Linked DNA regions of Homo sapiens: region 2 is linked to region 1. The links are contacts of gene promoters, found by promoter capture Hi-C in blood cells and fetal thymus (Javierre and others, 2016). All regions are on one chromosome and are shown on one strand. The core of a region is centred on a gene start or on the middle of the fragment in contact, and the rest is flanking DNA. Distances in the headings are between cores, read along the strand shown.

Region 1 (7,290 bases), core at 1,181-3,680:
AACGAAGCCAGACCCTGTCTCAAAAAAAATAAATAAATAAAAATAAAGTTGTTGATGCTTTATTTTTTATTTATTTATTTTGAGAGAAGGTTTCACTCTGTTGTCTAGGCTGGAGTGCAGTGGCATGATCTCAGCTTACTGCAACCTCTGCCTTGCAGGCCTAAGTGATCCTCCCACCTCAGCCTCCTGGGTAGCTGGGACTACAGGCACGCCATCACGGCCAGCTAAGTTTTTCGTATTTTTTGGTAGAGATGGGGTTTCACCATGTTGCCCAGAATGGTTTCGAACTCCTGAGCTCAAGTGATCCACCTGCCTCAGCCTCCCAAAGTGCTCGGAATACAGGCGTGAGCCACTGTGCCGAGCCTCATCAACAACTTTAAAGAAGAATAAGTGAGATACTGTTTAACAGATGCTGAGCCTGGTGCCCGGCACAGTAATAGGCTCTGTGATTATTTAAAAAGCCAGTTGCTAATGGGAAGTCTCTGTGGCAGATGTGCTAGACCTACAGGGGCTGTTGCCTGGTTGAAAAGGGATGCTGTATATGCGTGAAGGGTCACAGGAGAACCACTTTTGTTCCGTGTGGAAAAAGGAGTGTGAGAAACAGCTGGAGTACCGCAAAAAGCCCCTTTACTGTGGTCTTTATTAGAGCACAGCTATCAACTAAGTTGACTAAGTTACATATGAAGGGTTTAGCCCAGTGCCTGCCAAATAATAAGCATTCAGTACATATCAGCTATTGTGATTCTACCGTTATTCTGATAAAGAAGCTTTTTAGTGATTGGAATTAGAGAAAACAGGATTAATTTCTCCTTTTGGTGCAGTGACAGGAGAGTCTTGGCAAATGTTATCTTTTGGGGTCAGCTCTAGCTCTTGGGCTGGAGGGTGAGGAATCAGTTAAAGAAAAGGGTCCCTGGCGGGGTGTGGTGGCTCACGCCTGTAATCCCAACACTTTGGGAGGCCGAGGCGGGCGGATCACCTGAGGTCGGGAGTTCGAGACCAGCCTGACCAACACGGAGAAACTCTGTCTCTACTAAAAATACAAAATTAGCCAGGCGTGGTGGCACATGCCTGTAATTCCAGCTATTTGGGAGGCTGAGGCAGGAGAATTGCTTGAACCCAGGAGGCGGAGGTTGCGGTGAGGTGAGATTGTGCCATTGCACTCCAGCCTAGGCAACAAGAGTGAAGCTCGGTTAAAAAAAAAGAAAAGAAAGAAAGAGAAGAAAAGAAAAGAAAGAAAGAAAGAGAAAGAAAGAAGAGAGAGAAAGAGAGAAAAGAAAGAAAAGAAGGAGGAAGGAAAGGAAAGGGAAAGGGAAAGGAAAGGAAAGGAAAGGAAAGGAAAGGGTCTCTGACCTCAGACAGGTTACAGTCTCACTAGGGAGACAAGGGTCAGGATTACGTGGGCGTCATTTTCCTCCTTACAGGCAGGCGGTGCCTCTCCCTTCAAAAGCAAGGGACCTTTATGCATGATTCCACATCTGCATTCCGATAGGAAAGGGAAACAGCAGAAACACAATACCCATCTGAGAGCTACGCTTAGAGAGGACTCTGGGCTTTTATTTATTTTTTTACTTCAGTCTTGTGACCAGTAATTTTAAGGGAAAGCCAATAATAATGTTTTTAAAAAGCCTCACGCCACCCCTGGCGGCATCTCCTCGGTGTACTTTGCTGTTCAGATCCGCCTGCCTTCTGTGCCAGCCTAACAGCGCCCGGCCTCAGCCCCCATTGTCCCTGGAGCTGGCGAGGTGTCCGGTTGCGGAGCCGGCGGCGTCTCTGGAAATGCATCCTGCATCCCCGCATGGATAACAGCTGCAGCTATGTCAGAATTGCACAAAGAGGGGAGAGTGTCATTGTGTGCCTTTTGACACATACATTAAGACCAAAAAGGAAAAAAAGCGTCTATCTGTGCTGCCACCGACCAGACTCATGGAGGCCAGATTTTCTCCAATTAACCAGATCTTGCCCTGGTGCAGACAAGACTTAGTGAGTTCGGAGGAGGGGTGGGGAGAGGGAATTGGCTGGGGTCCCTACCCTGGGTGGAAGGAGGAGGGAGGGGTTCCCCCTCCCCCTTCCCCTACCCTCCCCTCCGGGTTTAGGGAGGGGATTAGAGGTGGGGAGGAGCTGGGGGGGCGTTTGGCCTGTGCCCCAACCTTGTGAGTGAGGTGGGGGTTGGAGGTGTGCGGGGGGCGGGGCGTGTGCCGGGGTCGCCGCGGGATGGGGGGTTGGGGATGTGCGGGGAGAGGCGCGTGTCCCGAGATCGCGGGGGGTGGGGTTGGAGGTGTGCGGGTGGAGGGGCGCGCCCTGGAGTTGGGGGCGGGCGAGGCGTTTGCGGGCGCGGGGGGCGGGTTTGGAGGTGTGCGGGGGAGGGGCGTGCCCTGGAGTTGGGGGCGGGGCGAGGCGGGCTCCTCCCCGGCGGGCGGGCCCGGGCGCGGCGCGGTGGCCTCGCGGTGCCTAGGCTGGGGCTGCCGGACCGTGAGGCTGTGAGTCGCGCGGACGGAGCCGGACAAAAGCGGGCGGCGGCGGCAGGATGAACAGCATCAAGAACGTGCCGGCGCGGGTGCTGAGCCGCAGGCCGGGCCACAGCCTGGAGGCCGAGCGCGAGCAGTTCGACAAGACCCAGGCGAGCGGGCGGCGGGCGGCGGGCGGCGGGCGGCGGCGGGCGGGCGGGCAAGCGGCGTCCCTGACCCCTCACGCGCGAACGGCTGGGGCCCGGGAGGCGCCGGCCAGGGGCGGGGGACGGCGCGGGGGCAGGGCCTGTGTCCGCCCGGGCTCTCCGAGAGCTCCGCTGCCGCCCCCCGCCGGCCTCCGCGGCCCGAGCCGACCGGCGCGCAGGTGAACCGGAAGCCGCGCTCCCCGCTCCCGCCGGGCGCTCGGGCCCAGAGGCGCCGGGGCTGAGGGGGCCGGGGTCAGGGTGTGCGCGGGCCGGGAGCGCCGGAGCTGAGGCGGCGGGGGACGGAGATGGGGCCGGGGTTGGGTGTGCGCGAGCCCAGCGCGCCGGGGGTCGAGGGGGCTGGGGATCCAGGTGCTCCCGGGGCCGGCGCGGCCCGACTGGGGTCCCCGACCTTCCGTGCCGCTCCTTGCCGGCTCCTGCCCCCGTCTCCTACCCCCTGAAACCGATGCCCCCACGGGCAATTTCCTTAAAGGAAATTCCTTAAACTCCCAGCTTCCTTCTCTCGTGAGCGGTTTCCCAGGGCTGCACAGTCTCCTATTATTTGCTGGGTGAAAAGCTTCTCGTATGTCGCCAGACTTGTTTGCCCGAGCGCTGCCCACGTATAAATAGGTGCACACCCCCTCATTAAATACCGGCGCCCGACAGACAGAAACTTCCTGGGGCTCCCTTCCTGCGCCTCCCACGCTTGTAACTCTTCCAGATGATGCCTATCCTGGGAAGGCGTTAGAAATGAAATAAGGGCGCGGGTGTGCGTTTTGTACTTGTGTTTGTGCCGGGGACCCACGATGCAGACGTTGCTGCGTTTCTGGTTTCCTGTTGCTTTTTATTTTACAAACTCTTGAAGTGCTCTCAGGCTTGGGGGATGGGCGGTGGAGGGGGGCATACTTGTTTATTTGCCAAAATAAGTCAACCAAGACTGAAATGGCTGAAAAATTTTACTCTAGAGATAAAGGAAGCCAGAGGACCCCTCCCACTCCTGTCTAAAGCAGGTTGGTGACATTTGCGTTTGTGGCGGCTATTTGCAAGTTCCGTCCCACTTGTCCTTGCAGAGAGCTATGACTTCTGCGGTTGCCTTCACATCTAGTTAGCACACGCACTCTACAACAGCTTTCGTTTTGAAATGAGAGAGAACGCAGGGAGACCTTCTAACCTTTGTGCTTGGGATTGACCCAGAAAGCGATAATAAATCCTGAGGATATCAAGGCTTTAGAAATGCGAAGTGCTGGAACCCAGGTGGCTGCAAATTACCAATTTAGCCTTGTGATCTTCATCACCATCAACTGGTTCAGCCCGGATAGCCCGTCATTTTAAAAAAATTTAAAGTCACCAATACATAATTAATTGTGCCAAGAACTTGTAGATCATAGGGAGAAAACCTGAATTGGCAGACATATCTGGATGTTGTCAGAAACTTTGTTTATTCACTGAGTTTTTTCTCGTGCCTTTGAGGACGTATAAAGAGGTCTGATTGCTACATGGAGGAGATGGGATGTGAAGGACCAACTTCATTGATCTTACTCTTAAATGATAAGAAGTCAAGGGCAACCTTCCTGAGTGTCAAAGAGAGAATCTCTGATACAGGACCACACATTTTAGTGGTTGGTTTGATACACAAGAAGGTGGATTTTTTTTTTTTTTTTTTAAAGACAGAGTCTCTCTCGTTGCCCAGGCTGGAGTGCAATGGCATGATCTCAGCTCGCTGCAACCTCCGCCTCCCGGGTTCAAGTGATTCTCCTGCCTCAGCCTCCCAAGTGGCTGGGACTACAAGCGTGCGCCACCACACCTGGCTAATTTTTGTGTTTGCAGTAGAGAAGGTGTTTCACCATGTTGGACAGGCTGGTCTCGAACTCCTGACCTCAGGCGATCCACCCGCCTCACCTCGGCCTCCCGAGATGTTGGGATTACAGGCACCTCTCCGAAGGTGGATTGTTTTGTTTTGTTTTGCTCTGGTTTTTTCTCAGAGGCTAAGAGGGCCACTAACAATGAATAACTTTGTAATGGGTGAATGTCACAGGTCTTACCTATTCTAGGGCCCCATTTTCTGGAAAGTTGGAGTTTGAGTTCATTGTCTGGGTTTGCTCGTCTTCACAGTGACTTATTGAGGAATGTAAGAATGAGGTTTTGTACGTGGTTAATATTTAATTAGATCGTTCCCAGAAATAATCAGGTGAGCCGCCAGCCAGGTCCCGTGGTGGAAAAGGACCTGGAGAGCTGAGGTTGTTACTTCCATGTCTCCTTCGGGACAGAAAATAGCACATGCAGTCCAGGGACCTGGCTTCCTTTGTAATACGCTGCTTGTCTTGCATTGACCACAGCACTGTGTGCTGTGGCAGGAGCACTAGGCTGGCTTAGAATTTAAATATTCACTAGCCTGCCAGCCTCGCTTTCCTCCCCTGGGCTCCTGGGTCAGGAGGAAGATAATTGCTTTCCTGTGAGCTTTTTTGACAGGACACACCCTGTTTGCAAATATCTGTGGGGTTAGCGCTCAGGAGTGTGAAGAGAGGCGATCATGTGCCTGCTGGGAGCTGGTGCCTGTGATTGTTGCATGGTGTGTGTGTATAATCCCAGGGGAATGTCCAGAAAACCAGTGTATGCTTTTCTTCCCTATGACTTTAGTCCCTTTGGTTAAAAAAAAAAAAAATCCTTTTCAAAATGGAGGTGACAAACTTTTATTGTCTTGTTGCTGTTTTCTGAATACAGAATACTACAAAATACAGCATGCCTGTATTTGGAACCTGAACACTGCCTGTACCATTTAAAAAGAGGGTGTGGTATCATAAAGGCACTAGTAGGTAGATAGACCTAGGCTCTAGCCTGTGTCCCTGGCAAGTTGCTTAACTTGTAAATCTATGTCCTTGTCTGAAAAAAAAACCATACAGATCGTTCCAGCTATCGTATAGGGCTGTTGTAAGGTGTAAGAGAGAGACCGTGTGGCAGCTAGAACCTGTGACTACGTTAATGACTTAGTAAGGCGTTGCAGGTGGAATTAGAGTTTTTCATCAGCTGAGATGGTCCTTGAGATGGGGCGATTCTCCTGGGCTACCAGGTGGGCTCAGTGTAATCACAAAGGTCTTTAAATGTGGACAAGGGAGGCAGGAGAGGAGGTCGGACTGAGTCCATGTGAGAAAGACTCACTGCCTGCTGCTGGGGAGGAGCCACTAGCCAAGGAGTATGGGCATCCTCCACAGCCTGGAAAAGGCGAGGAAATGGATTCTTCCCTAGAGCCTCCAGGAGGAAACACAGCCTTTCTGACACTTTGCTTTTAGTCCTGTGAGACCTGTTTTAGACTTCCGACCTCCAGAACTGCGAGTTTGTGTGATTTGTTATGGCAGCCATAAGGAACTAATACATCCAGTATGTAAACATGAAAGAGCACCTAGGGCATAGAAGGGCCTCAGCAGATACTTGGCCCAACCGTCTTTCTCCCTTCCCTTCCTCGGCTGAAAAGTTTAACATCTAGAGAAGAAAGCATCTTTGAAGCATATCATGAAGAAGGACTCAGTTAGGAGTACTGGAAATGCTAATGGTGAGTCCTGCCTTTTCCTGATCTGTGAACCTTTCTGCTTCACTGGGCCTCAGTTTCCACTGCAGGCCCACAGGATGGAGATCAAGCCCAGAAGATTCCTCTCAGGTTAGGATGAGAGAAACCCTTTACTACACTGCAAGGCCTCTGGCCACTGCTGAGTGAGCCAAGTCTGGCGGGTGAGCATTAACTGTAGACATGAAACTACCCAGGTGTAAGGGGTTCCTGTGGGGCAGGGACTGTCTAGGGCAGCAATATGTGGAAACAGTTCATAGGTCCAATTTTCCAGGTTGGTGACATACATGCTTAGCATCCCCCGTGAAACCAAAATCCTGTCAAGATTAACATTTATTGACAACTGAGGGCTTCTCAGCCCCGGCACACAGTAGAGCAGTGTTGTCCAGGAGGAACCAGAGGCAAGCCACGTGTGTACTTTTAGATTGTCTAGTAACTACTAGAAAAGTCAACAGAAACAGGTGCGATTAACTGTAATAGCATATTTTATTTAACCCAGTATATCCAAAAGCTAGCCCTTTCAACATGTAATTGCCACAAAAATTATGAATAGGAGAATTTACATTCTTTTTCTCCTACTAAATCTTTGAAATAGGTATGCACTGGACACTCACAGCTGATCTCAGTCTGGACTCACCACCTTTCCAATACTCACAGCCCGCACCGGCCAGCGGCTACCGTGCCGGACAATGCAAGTGTTAGAATCACCTGGTGGCTTTTAGAAAAGGGCAACATTTACGTGTATAGGAGTGATTTGCCCGCAGCATGGCATGGGCGTTGAGCTCGTTGTTCCTGGGCATGCGCACTGCTGTCTCGCCCCGTGACATCCTCTGCTCGGTTCCACCCCATCAGCCCACATGGTGATGCCCTCGTGGTGATGCCCGGCAGGCCGCTGACTTCCCGACCCCTGGGCTGCATATTGCCTCCCTGGCAGAGCTATTCCAGAGGCTGTTCTTGGTCCAGGTTGGGGTGGGAAGGGGCCACCCATCCTTGACCTCCCCCTCCCTGTCTCTGATGTGTTTTGATGCCCATGACACATTCCTGAGCGCCGCTTGCTGTCTTACCATTTGGCCTGTTCCTGTAG
Region 2 (6,278 bases), core at 2,253-4,752, 120 kb after region 1:
AGAGCAGATACCCCTCGAGGGCTACTCTGAGCCAATCCCAGTCATCAGCATCTTGCTTAAGCTTCATGACATCCCGCTGTACAGCGGAGGAGGCTGGGGCTCAGAACAGGAAGGCCCCCGTAGAGTCACACAGCCTGTCCGTGACTGAGCCAGACTTCAAACCCATGTCTCCTCCCTGTCACTGGCAGAGGGGGTAACTCCTCTTCCCTTCTAGGGAAATAACAACCTGGCTGGTGGCGGGCAGGAAAGCGCAGACACTTCTTACCTAAGTTGGACATTGTGCTAAGAGCTGTGTAAGGACCCCATGGGGTGGCTACTATCCGTGTTCCCATTTTACAGACAAGAAAACAGAGGATCAGAGAGGTGAAGTTCGTGAGTGGAGGAACCAGGGCTTCGACCCAGGCCGGTGTCTCTCAGAGCTTGGATCTTGGTGGATATTCTATCGTCTTCCCCGTTGTGGCCCCTGGCCCTCACCTGCTGACCCCCATGGGAGCAGGGTCTCTGTCGGCCACAGGCGTGGGTAGTCCTGGACCTGGTGGTTTCCATGGGGCAATGGAAAGCAAGGCCTTGGCTCCTGCAGGGACCTCGGGTGGCCTGGCCTGGGCCCCACAGAGGCCGCAGCCCACACCAAAACCTCAGTGAGCAAGCCAGCTCCCAGGACACAGGCCAAGCCCAGGGTGTTCCCAGCCTGAACTAACAGCAGGAGGAGAAGACAGAGGGCTGAGACCACCCACACGCCCATTTCATTCCTCAGTGCCAGGCAAGCCCACAGGGGTGGGGCCCAGCCCCCAGGACACCTAGGGCACTGGAAGGACCAACCTGTGCGGTTCTCATCAAAGAAGCTTGTCTCCTGGGACACCAGTGAGCGGAAGAGACAGTTTCGAAGGCGAATGTTCAGTCTGGCAAATATGAGGGTAAAAATGCCGCCCCGAATACCTGCGGCAAATGAGCTAATTGCAGATAAGAGATATTATAGCACGATGTCCTTCCAGACCAGTGACCACACCCGGCTGCCCCCTCCCGCTGCCGGCAGGCCTGGGAGCCCCACCGCAGCCCCACTCCAGGGCTGGCATCCCTGCGGGGTCCCCCTCATTCCCAGTGGGAGCCCCCCTCAAGGTGAGGGCAAAGGGGACAGTTGTGGGACAAGAGACCCAAATGTGCCAGCCAGACCCTCTTCCTTCCAGAACAGCTCAGACAAAGCCGGTTCTGTTTGGGACCAGATTCCTACTTGGAAAACAGCCAGGGAGGGTGAGCAGGGAACCCTGAGGACTGAAGCCCTTTTCAGGGACCAGAGGGTGTGGTTCTAGGGTGCTCTAAGACAGTGTGGAAGCCGGTTCCCAGGGTGACCAGCTGAGGGACAGGCCCACCAGGGGCATTTCCAGGGCCTCCCTGGCCCCTGTCTTCCTTAGGAACAGGCCCTCCCTTCCCTCCCTGGTGCAGGTCGGGGTGTGCGGGGCAGGGCGTGGGGGTTGAGCCAGCTACCTGCCAATGGCCAGCAGGCACACGATGACGACAGCCGTGCTGAACTGATCCATGCTTTTCTGGATGACGATGCCATCAATGGCGCGGCCCGTGTAGTAGGGCAGGAAGGTCTCTCCTGGGGGAGGCAGGGCAGCCTCAGGGACGTCTGCAGCCAGGGGAACCCGCACCCTTCCTCCTGAGGCTCCAGAAGTCCACACACCAACCCCTCTGCCCACTCCACCGGTGGGCTTTCCTCCCTCGGCAAACTCTTGCTGCCCATCGTGGGGCCCCAGGGTGCTTAATGCCCCCCTCCTCAGAGAACAGGGGAGCACTGGGCCTTGCATCCACACAGCCTGCTGGTTCTTCTTTATTTATAGTGGCTACCAGGCATCGAGCCAGGGCTCCTGCAGGATGCTTCATTCTCTTGTTTTTTGAGACAGGGTCTCGCTGTGTCCCCCGGGCTGGAGTGCAGTGGTGTAATCATAGCTCACTGCAGCATCAAACTCCTGGGCTCAGGTGATCCTCCTGTCTCAGCCTCCTGAGTAGGGAATACAGGCATGTGCCACCATGCCAGGCTAATTTTTTTTTTTTTTTTTTTGTAGAGACAGGGGTCTCACTATGTGGCCCAAGCTGGTCTCAACCTCCTGGGTTGAAGCAATCCTCCTACCTTGGCCTCCCAAAGTACTGGGATTATAGGTATGAGCCACCGCTCCTGAACTTTGTTTCATTCCCTTTGGAGCAGGCCCTGGAATCACCCCCATTTTACAAATGAGAAAAATTAATTTGTTTTTCTTTTTCTAAAATATTTTCCTTTTTTTTTTTTTTTTTAACTTTTTGAGACAGGGTTTCACTCCTGTCGCCCAGGCTGGAGTGCAGCCTCAACCTCCTGGGCTCAGTGGATCTTCCCACCTCAGACTCCTGAGTAGCCGGGACTACAGGCACACGCCACCAGGCCTAGCTAATTTTTTGTATTTTTTTGTAGAGACGAGGTTTCGCTAGGTTGCCCAGGCTGGTCTCTAACTCCTGGGCTCAAGCGATCCACCCACCTCAGCTTCCCAAAGTGCTGGGGTTACAGGCCTGAGTCACAGCGTCCGGCTGAAAGTGAAGTTGAATGAGATGACTCGTCCAGGCCACATGGCAATCAGTGGCTGATTGACGCCAAAGTTGATTTCATTCTTCTCAATGGGTTCAGAGTCCAAATTCTGGAACCTCAGAAGACGTTGCTATTCTGGTTCCAAGCAATGCTGGAAATTGCCACCCCACCCCTCCTGGTGGGGCACTTGACACCTTGCTGGGTGCTTTCTTACCCGCTTGCCTTACTGTGTTTTCACAACAATCCTGGGGTGGAATGGGAGACTCACAGAGGCTGAGGAATTTACTCCAGGTCACACAGCAAGGGGAAAGGCTGGGACTCAAACCTAAACTGGCTTTCAACCTGGGGGCTCTTTCTTTTCCCTTCCTCCTGTGGTCTGAATGCATCTCCCAAAATTTACATATTGAAACATAATCGCCAATGTGATAGGGCAGAGCTCTCCAGGATGGGATGAGGGCCCTTTTCAAAGGGCTTGTAAGCCTGGTTTGCCATCTCTCGCCCTTCCACCTTCTGCAGCGTGAGGACACAGCAGTCTTCCCCTCCAGAGGACACAGCAAGGAGGGACCATCTTGGAAGCAGAGAGTGGCCCTCACGACACCAAACCTGCTGGCACCTTGATCTGGGACTTCCCAGCCTCTAGAACAGTACGAAATCAGTTTCTATGGTTTCTAAATGACCCAGTCTGTGGTATTTTGTTACAGCAGCAGAAATGAGACTCCCCCGACAATAATCCGGAATGTCCACTCTCCTCTTAAGGAAATAGTGGCATCACCAGGCCAGGCCAGGCCCTTGTTCATCCCAGGACCTGTTTCCACTGAAGTTCTTTCCATGAGCAGAGCCAGGTTTGGGGCTGGGCATACAGTAGGTGCTCAATAAAGGTCAGTGAATGAACCCCGGGCAGGTCTGGCTAGCACAGTCTGGCCTGGCTCAGACACTTGGGTAGTGAGACTTTCTGTGCAGTTCTGGTGCCCTCTGCTGGGACCATGAGGTGGCAGCCTAGAGGGCCTGTGTCCCCACAGTCCTTGGCCAGACGAGGTCTCCAGCTGAGGCTGCAGAGTTCCACCCAGCCTGAGTTTCTGCCTCAGTTTACCCACAGAAAAGAAGAGGGCAACGATGAGCTGTGACAGAATATTCTGGAATATCTGATTCCAGCAAGCACCAATGCTAATAATCGCCTTACTGGGTACCAGGGGCTGTGCAAAGCATGCCGGCAAACTCTCTTGCTGAATCTGCACAAGAATTACGTGAAACTCTCCAATGCACCAGCAAATACTCAGACCATTTCCAGAACCTGACCACTTTCACTGCCTCTACTGCCCCAACCCTGGTCCAAGTCATTAACCTCACTGGGACTATCTCAGTAGCCTGCTCTCAACTTTGCTCACATCAGCCTGTCCACACAGTAGAAGGCAGGATCCTGTTGGAACTAACTTCAGATCTTGTTGCTCCTTGGCTCAAAACAGTCCAAATCCCCCTTCTCATCCAGTGAGATGGTAAAAGCCAAAGTCTTTACAATAGCCCACAAGGACCTGCATGATTGAGCCGCTAGCAGAGACCTTTGTCTTCTCCCCGCCCCATCTCACTCCCTCTGCTCCAGCTAACTGGTGTCTGCTCTTGAACAACTGGGCACCTTCCTGCCTCAGGACCTTTGCATGGGCTAGTCCTTCTGCCTGGAGTGCTCTTACCACATACATTTTTTTTTTTTTTTGAGATGGAGTCTCAGTCTGTTACCCAGGCTGGAGTGCAGTGGCATGATCTCAGCTCACTGCAACCTCCACTTCCTGGGTTCAAGTGATTCTCATGCCTCAGCCTCCCAAGTAGCTGAGATTACAGGTGACCGCCATCACACCCGGCTAAATTTTATATATGTATATATATATTTTGAGATGGAGTCGCACTCCGTCGCCCAGGCTGGAGTGTATTGGCACGATTTCAGCTCGCTGTAACCTCTGCCACCTGGGTTCAAGTGATTGTCCTGCCTCAGCCTCCCGAGTAGCTGGGATTACAGACACCTGCCATTGCACCTGGCTAATTTTTGTATTTTTAGTAGAGATGGGGTTTCACCATGTTGGCCTGGCTGATCTTGAACTCCTGACCTCGTGATCCACCTGCCTTGGCCTCCCAAAGTGCTGGGATTACAGGCATGAGCCATCGCACCTGGCCTAAATTTTATATTTTTATTAGAGACAGGGTTTCACCATGTTGCCCAGGCTGGTCTTGAACTCTTGACCTCAAGTGATCTGCCCGCCTCGGCCTTCCAAAATGCTGGGATTACAGGTGTGAGCCACCACACCCAGCCACTTACCCCAGATATCTGCTCCCCTACCTTCTTAAGTCTCAAAGGCCACCCAGTAATCCTATAGGTTTGGTACAATTATTCCTTCCATTTGTGGAAATGTATTCTTTACACAAAAGAGGAAACTGAGGCTCAGAGAGATTAAGTCACTTGCCCAAGTTTATACATTTGGTTTGCCATGAAATCCATATTAAAGAATCTTAGGCTACAGAAGGTAGCTCACACCTGCAATCCCAGCACTTTGGGAGGCCGAGGTGGGAGGATCACTTGAGCTGGAGAGGTCAAGGCTGAAGTCGCTGTGATCACTCCACTGTACTCCATCCAGCCTGGGTGACAGAGGGAGGCCCTGCCTCAAAAAAAAAAAAAAGGACTCCATTTGTTTTTTATGTATTTTTTTTATTTTTTTTGAGACGGAGTTTCACTCTTGTTGCCCAGGCTGCGATGCAATGGTGCGATCTCCACTCACAGCAACCTCTGCCTCCTGGGTTCAAGCGATTCTCCTGCCTCAGCCTCCCGAGTAGCTGGGATTACAGGCATGCGCCACCACACCTAGCTAATTTTGTATTTTTAGTAGAGACGGGGTTTCTCCATGTTGGTCAGGCTGGTCTCGAACTCCTGACCTCAGGTGATCTGCCCCCCCTTGCTGAGATTACAGGTGTGAGCCACCGTGCCCGGCCTATTTTTTATTTTTTGAGACAGAGTCTCATTCCGTCACCCAGGCTGGAGTGCAGTGGCACGATATCAGCTCACTGCAACCTCCACCTCCCAGGTTCAAGCAATTCTCCTGCCTCAGCCTTCTGAGCAGCTGGGATTACAGGCGTGTGCCACCACGCCCGGCTGATTTTTGTATTTTTAGTAGAGACGGAGTTTCACCATGTTGGCCAAGCTAGTCTTGAACTCCTGACCTCAAGTGATCTGCCCACCTCAGCCTTCCAAAGTGCTGGGATTATAGGTGTGAGCTGCTGCACTTGGCCTCTAAAGAACCTTAATTTAATAAGAGATACTCAACCCTAAAACTAACATTTCCCAATGGGTGGTTTTTTGTTTTTTGTTTTTGTTTGTTTGTTTTAAGATTCTGAGGGTACAGAAAAGCTGGGCACTGCTGAATGCTTGTTGATTGAAAAATAATTATTAATAATCACAGTACCTAATTGTCTTTTTTGAGATGGGGTCTCGCTATGTTGCCCAGGTTGGTCTCAAACTCCTAAGCCAAAGCAACCCTCCCTCCTTGGCCACCCAAGTAGCTGCGGTCACAGGTACATGGCATTGCACCTGGCCCTAACACTGATTAAGTATTTACTTGTGCTAGGCACCAAGCTTCCTCTCACTTCTTTCTCACAGTACCCCAAGAAAGCCCTCACTTCAGAATGGTCAAGTGAGCGTTGGCCAGGTTAATAACTTGCCTAAAGTTATCAGTGAAGTCGGGAG

Evidence for each region. The method cuts DNA at HindIII sites, captures the fragments that hold promoters and counts their contacts. A CHiCAGO score of 5 or more calls a contact.
Region 2: a contact is called between a fragment that was not itself captured here and the fragment with the promoter of HIP1R in region 1, in 4 of 17 cell types (endothelial precursors, total B cells, non-activated CD4 T cells and 1 more). The highest score is 6.4, in endothelial precursors.

The regions. Positions count from the first base shown.
Region 1 is chr12:122,833,027-122,840,316 of GRCh38, forward strand. It overlaps HIP1R (huntingtin interacting protein 1 related), which reads left to right and starts at 2,431. Exons shown (of 32, transcript NM_003959.3): 1 at 2,431-2,617. The coding sequence starts at 2,525. It overlaps LOC124903040 (a long non-coding RNA gene), which reads right to left and starts at 2,207. Exons shown (of 2, transcript XR_007063501.1): 1 at 2,148-2,207; 2 at 1,529-1,812. RefSeq lists an enhancer at 2,033-2,082 and silencers at 2,333-2,572, 2,743-2,942. The HindIII fragment of the contact is 2,457 bases long and covers 766-3,222 here.
Region 2 is chr12:122,948,969-122,955,246 of GRCh38, forward strand. It overlaps ABCB9 (ATP binding cassette subfamily B member 9), which reads right to left. Exons shown (of 12, transcript NM_019625.4): 3 at 1,483-1,597; 4 at 820-950. Among named protein-coding and RNA genes, the nearest start is that of ABCB9, 14 kb to the right of the region's middle. The HindIII fragment of the contact is 5,325 bases long and covers 841-6,165 here.